2 separate regions of the Homo sapiens genome follow, and region 1 is linked to region 2. The links are contacts of gene promoters, found by promoter capture Hi-C in blood cells and fetal thymus (Javierre and others, 2016). All regions are on one chromosome and are shown on one strand. The core of a region is centred on a gene start or on the middle of the fragment in contact, and the rest is flanking DNA. Distances in the headings are between cores, read along the strand shown.

Region 1 (3,132 bases), core at 401-2,900, 1.1 Mb after region 2:
GGTGGAGCTTGCAGTGAGCCGAGATCGGGCCACTGCACTCCAGCCTGGGCGACAGAGCGAGACTCCAGCTCAAAAATAAATATAAATAAATAAATGATTTTTTTGGTCAGTGTTTACTAAATATCTACAATTATGCCAGCTACTGCAGTAAGAATCAAACAGTTCCTGGATGGAAAAACAATTTTAAGATATGATCACTGACCTCAAACAGTTTACTGGAGTGAAATTACTAAAATATGTGAATCAAGGTAGAGTTACGTGCCGCTAACTGGAGTACACATGAAATTCATGTTGATGGGAGCGGAGAGAAGGAAGTAAGCAGTCTGTGCTGAAAGAGAATGGATAAAAATTGACCAGTCAGGGAAGGGGAGACGCATAATTCAGGCCAAAAAAAAAAAAAAAAGCCACTTGAGTAAAGGAATAATACAAGATTGATAAGACGAGCGTAGAGGGAACTAAGAACAAATATGTGCCCAGGCGCGGTGGCTCACGCCTGTAATCCCAGCACTTTGGGAGGCCAAGGCGGGAGGATAACTTGAGGTCAAGAGCTCAAAACCAGCCTGGCCAACATGGTGAAACCCCGTCACTACTTAAAAAAAAAAAATAGCCGGGCGTGGTGGCATATATCCGTAATCCCAGCTACTCGGGAGGCTGAGGCAGGAGAATCGCTTGAGCCTCGGAGGTGGGGGTTGCAGTGAGCCGAGATCACATCACTGAAAAAAAAAAAAAAAAGGCAGGGTGGGCACATCACCTCAAGTCAGGAGTTCAGGACCAGCCTGGCCAACATGGCGAAACCCTGTCTCTACCAAAAACAAAAAAAATTAGCTGGGTGCAGTGGCGCACGCCTGTAGTCCCAGCTTCTTGGGAGGCTGAGGCAGGAGAATCGCTTGGGCGGGGTGGGGGTGGGGGTGGGGGTGGGGGCGGAGGGGCGGAGTTTACAGTGAGCGAAGATCATACCACTGCACTCCAGCCTGGGTGACAGAGCGAGACTCTGTCTAAATAAATAAATAAATAACAAATAGGTGGGTGGGACCAGATTATGGGTGGCTTAAAATCCAGGTATACCAGCTGTCTTCCTGGAAATAAAGAGGAGCCACTTTAGTTTTGAGAATGTGGTCTGAGCCAGGTAGATAAACTGGGAGCTCGGGCTGAAGTGTAAGACTTCAGAAAGATGTTCCATACGTGAATGTTCATTTAAACGTGGGGGTGTTAAGCAACACACGTGACCCAGAGACATTTCACCTGGAAACCGGAGTAGGGCCCACGCACCAAGTCCCTGATGTTTAATTGCAGTCTAGAATGTTACTGACTAGTTCACTCAATTTAACAAAGTGTCCGGAGGTCGCTCACTGGATTGTTATGCTGGTGACTGGGCCTTGTTTCACTGAGAAAAAAAGATGGGAAAGGGTGACAGGACGGTGAGAAAGTGAAAGGGAGAGAGGTGGGAAAGGGGTCTGCCAAGGTCCAGGCGAGGTTGGGGGTCGGGGGTCCGGCGGCCCTCAGGGCCCCCCCCGCCCCCAACTCCGGGGTTGGCGCCTCGGGCGCGGCGCGTGTGCTTGCGGGCGGGGCGCCCCGCGGCCGCGGACGGCCAATCCGGGAGGGCGTCCGGGGAGGGGCGGGGCTTGCCGGCTCGGGCTCCGCGAGTCCTCCTTTTTGCACACACACGAATACAAAGAGCCATACGACCTTCGGGTATCCTTTTTCCATTTTTTTTCCTCCTTAATCTTGTGTGTGTTTTCAAATTTTTTAAAAATAGAGATCTGTAGCAGTGTTGGGGTGAGGAAACTGTTGCTAAGGGGAATTTGCTCTTTCCCCCATTTCTTTTTCTGTCTCTCTTCCTCTTTCTTTTTCCTGGTCAAGGTTTTAAATATACCAAGAAGTTGAGAAGCAGGATGGCCGTGTACAACCGTTTCCGGCCAAATTTATAGTTTTTTTTTCTTTTTTTTAAATCACATTTTAAGAACTGGTAGATTTTTGTGGTTGAGGGACTTTAAAAATTTAGCCGCTTGGGAAGTACAGAATTTTTTAAGCGGGCTGAAGGGATAATGTAAATTTCTGCCACAGGCAACATCGAAGGAAGCAGAGAGATTTGAGGCTCCCTCATAAAGCCGTTTGCGTGCTTTTTACACACCCACCCCCCCAGAACCAAAACCAAGTGGCTGGGATGTGGCACTTGTCCAAGGCCAATAAGTTAATATTGGGATATTATAATGGAGACATTCATTTCCCTAGGGAAGGGGGAAAGACCTTAATTACAGTGTGTCTTTCACACACATTTTCATTAGAACATTTGTGTGTGTGTGTGTGTGTTTCTTGAAACAAATTTGTAAAGTTATAACTTGGGGTTATTTGTGTATATGTACAATATGTGTGTATATGTGCCATATCAGATTTTATTTTCAAAAGTGATAAATATATCTGGTTTTATGTGTGCAAAGTATCCCCTAGGATGTGAATTTTTTTCCGTTGTCTTCCCAAATGTGATCAAAATATTTTGTGTGCAAAGCAGAGCTTAGAAGAAATCCTATGCTTAGCATACTTAGGCACTTTCTATGTGCATTTACTATATTTTTCTGCTCCTAAAGGATCAGAATAATGAATAATTAAATAATTGCCAAGGAGTATATAGTCCATGTGGCAAATGAGAGTAGGCAATTTATTGAATCTGTGGTTCAAAGCCTTCAGTGACTGTTTTGCCTAAGTGGTTTTGCTTTTTATTGTCTCACGTTCTTAAGTGTACAGCTGTGTATATTTTGGCCTTTATGTGTGGTTTGGTTGGTGTGTTCAGAAGGGAAGTTCTTTCTTGGCTTTTTGACAAAATGGTCGTTTATTGGTTGGAATATTCGAAAAGCTCCACAGCTGGCAAAGTATCAGGAAAAAAATCCAGTCAAGTGTAATTCTCAAAAACTGTTCATGGTGATGGTGATGGGGAGCCAAGAGGATGCAAAGGCAAATAATAGAAGGGATAAGAAATGCCTTTTGGTTATCATGTTGCATTTTTAGAATGGAAAGCTTCTCATTTCTAAGAGTCACAGAAAAAAGTATATGAATTAGAGAAAAACAGGCTCGCAGAGCAGAACCTCCTGTTATAGGAGCCCTATTTTCACTTCATTCTGTTACAGAATCACTATC
Region 2 (3,144 bases), core at 3-2,502:
GTGCGGCGTCCAGCTGCAGGTAGCGGGCGGCTAGCGGCAGAGAGCTGGCTAGTAGCGGCCGGAGCTGCTCCAGGGAAAACGCCTGCCCGGAATCCCTCCTCAGGGCGCTCGCCAGCTCCTCGCGGGCCACCAGGAAGGCCCGCTCCTCTTCCTCCCCCGGCATCCTGAGGCAGGAGTCAGCCCCAGCCTCGCCGCCCGCCAGGACCCGGCGCGGGCAGCGCGCGGCCCGAGCGCCGCCCCTCCCGTCTGGTGCCCGGCTTTGAGGCCCACCCCGGCCCACGCAGCCGCCCCAGGTCACTCAGACCACGGTCACTCTCCAGCCCCCGGCCCAGCGCCAGGGTTAGCCGAGAACAGGAAGTACTAGGAGAGAGGGTGGGACTGCGACCCAATTTCGGAGGAACGGGCGGGGCTTAAGGTTAAGGTTGGAGCGGTGTCAGGAAACCAGGGGGCGCGGCCAAGAGGGAGGGCCAGGTCCCAACCAATGAGAAGGCAAATGGCTCCTGGCTCCTCCCTCAGAGCGCGCCAGCATCTTCCCTCAGTCAAGCGCTCTTCCCCGCCTTCCCCCAATCTGGTTCCACCCCTTCCGGATAGCCGCAGGCGCGGGGTTATCCTATTCAGCTCAAAACCTTTCTTTTTCTAGCTGGACCAGTCCGGTACGCTCCGGGCCTCACCGAGGAAGTCCCACCCTGCAGGGGAACCGACTCTGGCCGGCCCTAACCCCTCTCGAGCGAGTCCCGCCCCATCTCCGGTCTGTCCTGAAGGCAGAGGGAAGACCCTCACCCAACCCCTGCCCGCTCTCTTCTAAGAGCTGCTAGTCCTTCTCCACCCCAGGCGCTCCCTCTGGCTGCCCCTCCCACTCGCTCTGATCTCTCTCCGTCCGCTACTTGCGGTCGAGCCTTCTTGGGGGAGCCCCGCCACTGAATACCCCCTTTGCCATACTCCCACCTCTCTTACCCCAACCCTGGACTTCCAGTTGGCCCTAGCTATAAGCCCCGCCCCTCTCCGAGGGACAGCCCCCGCTCCAGTCTCCGCGGTCCCACTTACCCTAGCCCCTCCCTCGGGCAGCCCCTGGACTGTGACCCAGCCAGCACCGCCTCTCCTAGTGGCAACTGGCTGGGAATGGCTGAGGGGCTACCTACTGCTTGCGGCCTGCCAGCGGGAGGAGGGGGGCGGAAAGAAGAAAGGGGGCGGGGTTGAGGGGGGCGGGCCTGGACCTGGGGAGTGAAAGCGAAAGCCCGGGCGACTAGCCGGGAGACCAGAGATCTAGCGACTGAAGCAGCATGGCCAAGCCGTGTGGGGTGCGCCTGAGCGGGGAAGCCCGCAAACAGGTAATGGGGAATCGGAGGCCAGGAAGGGGTCATAGAACCCTCTTGGGTGGAGGCCAAGCTGGGTGGTTCAGGGGACCAAGCAGTGCCAGAGAACTCCCCCAATCTCGCTAGTGCCTTCACTTCTCGGGGATTCCCAGATTCCTGCCTTCTGACTGCAGTGAGCAGGAGCTTCCAGGGAAAGCTAGTTTGTGGTGAGAAAGGCCTGAGCCACAGTTCGAGGGCACCCTGTTGTGGGTGGAAGCTTTTGACAACCCAGACCCTTAACCAACATCCGGGTACTGCTCTCTGTGTAGGTGGAGGTCTTCAGACAGAATCTTTTCCAGGAGGTAAGTCTCTGGATTTGAGCGATTTGACCCAGAATCTTGGACCAATACTTGAGGATAACAGCCTCTCAGAATGACCCCCCCAAGTCACCCTAGACTTAACCCTACTTCCCTTACCAAGCCTTCACCCAAAGTAACCCCGGAATTATTGATAGCTACCTTTAATCTGACCTTTCTTATGACTCTCCCGACTTCTGGCACTTCTCCCGTCTTTTGATGTGGAGGAAAAAAACCATGGCTTCCAAAGCAGGAATATCACAGTCCTAACCTTCGTTCTGCCATTTACCAGCTTGGGCAAGTCCTTTCATTTTCAGGTCTTCAGTTTCCTCATTTGCAAGTCTTGGACCCAGTGATTTCCAAAGGCCCTTCCAGTTCCATTTGTCAGACATCTCATTGAGCATATTCTGTGATTCCCCTCCCTTGCAATGTAACCCACAGGCTGAGGAATTCCTCTACAGATTCTTGCCACAGAAAATCATATACCTGAATCAGCTCTTGCAAGTGAGTAGTGTGGGCCCCTTCTGCCCCATCCTATGTCCTCTATCCCCTTTGCCCACCCTCTCTAGCTAACAACTGGATTCAGCATGCAGAGAATAGTTTCAAATAGTGGATTAGGAACATTAGGATGGCGTGAGGCATGAGCCTAGGTTGGGAGGCAGAGTGCAAGTGGGATGTATGGAGGGAAGGCTGTGACCTAGGATGAAGGGAAGAGGTTGGGCAGCCCTTGACAGTGAGCTCTGTGCAGGAGGACTCCCTCAATGTGGCTGACTTGACTTCCCTCCGGGCCCCACTGGACATCCCCATCCCAGACCCTCCACCCAAGGATGATGAGGTGAGGCACTCAGGGTGCAGGACTTGGACTATAAACCCAATGGAGAAGATAGCCCTTCAACCTCTGTGACTTTTCTAAAGCTACTTTCCCCCCTTTTTGCCTTAGATGGAAACAGATAAGCAGGAGAAGAAAGAAGGTAAGAGAGATAAGAGGTGACTAGGGAAGGGGTGATGGCACACTGACTACTGGATGAGAAAGGGCCTGAATCCCCTCTTTCTCACAGTCCATAAGTGTGGATTTCTCCCTGGGAATGAGAAAGTCCTGTCCCTGCTTGCCCTGGTTAAGCCAGAAGTCTGGACTCTCAAAGAGAAATGCATTCTGGTAAGCCTGGGAAATGGGGGAAGCAGAAAGAGAAGACACACAAGGTGAGGCCCTGGACTCCTCCGTAGATACAAGTCCTTCATACAGAGACCTAGTCCTGAAAAAGAAAACTTCCTTCTGTGCCTTGGGCTTAGATCCCCTTTGTTCTCCTCGTTCTGTTAGACCTCTCTTATCACAACGGTACCCCCAAAATTAGAGACTGTGCAGTATCCACTCTGTAACCTCAGAACCTACTGCTGTATTGGGTTCATAGTAGAGGTGGTATGATATAGTGAGTGAATTGTTTTAAAAGATTGGACCCTAGAGAGAGACTGCTTAGGTTCAAATCGTGATTCTATCA

What was found. The method cuts DNA at HindIII sites, captures the fragments that hold promoters and counts their contacts. A CHiCAGO score of 5 or more calls a contact.
Region 1: a contact is called between the fragment with the promoter of C14orf93 here and the fragment with the promoter of PSME2 in region 2, in 1 of 17 cell types (non-activated CD4 T cells). The highest score is 5.0, in non-activated CD4 T cells.

Annotation. Positions count from the first base shown.
Region 1 is chr14:23,008,661-23,011,792 of GRCh38, reverse strand. C14orf93 (chromosome 14 open reading frame 93) reads left to right here and starts at 1,650. Exons shown (of 7, transcript NM_021944.4): 1 at 1,650-1,692. It overlaps LOC124903286 (a long non-coding RNA gene), which reads right to left. Exons shown (of 2, transcript XR_007064075.1): 2 at 2,809-3,132. RefSeq lists a silencer at 1,312-1,661. The HindIII fragment of the contact is 8,647 bases long and covers 1-3,014 here.
Region 2 is chr14:24,144,718-24,147,861 of GRCh38, reverse strand. PSME2 (proteasome activator subunit 2) reads left to right here and starts at 1,252. Exons shown (of 11, transcript NM_002818.3): 1 at 1,252-1,328; 2 at 1,622-1,654; 3 at 2,090-2,152; 4 at 2,397-2,483; 5 at 2,589-2,619; 6 at 2,707-2,804. The coding sequence starts at 1,281. RNF31 (ring finger protein 31) reads right to left here and starts at 364. Exons shown (of 21, transcript NM_017999.5): 1 at 1-364. The coding sequence starts at 163. RefSeq lists silencers at 97-326, 357-446, 1,147-1,206 and enhancers at 288-582, 129-629, 767-836. The HindIII fragment of the contact is 5,988 bases long and covers 1-1,571 here.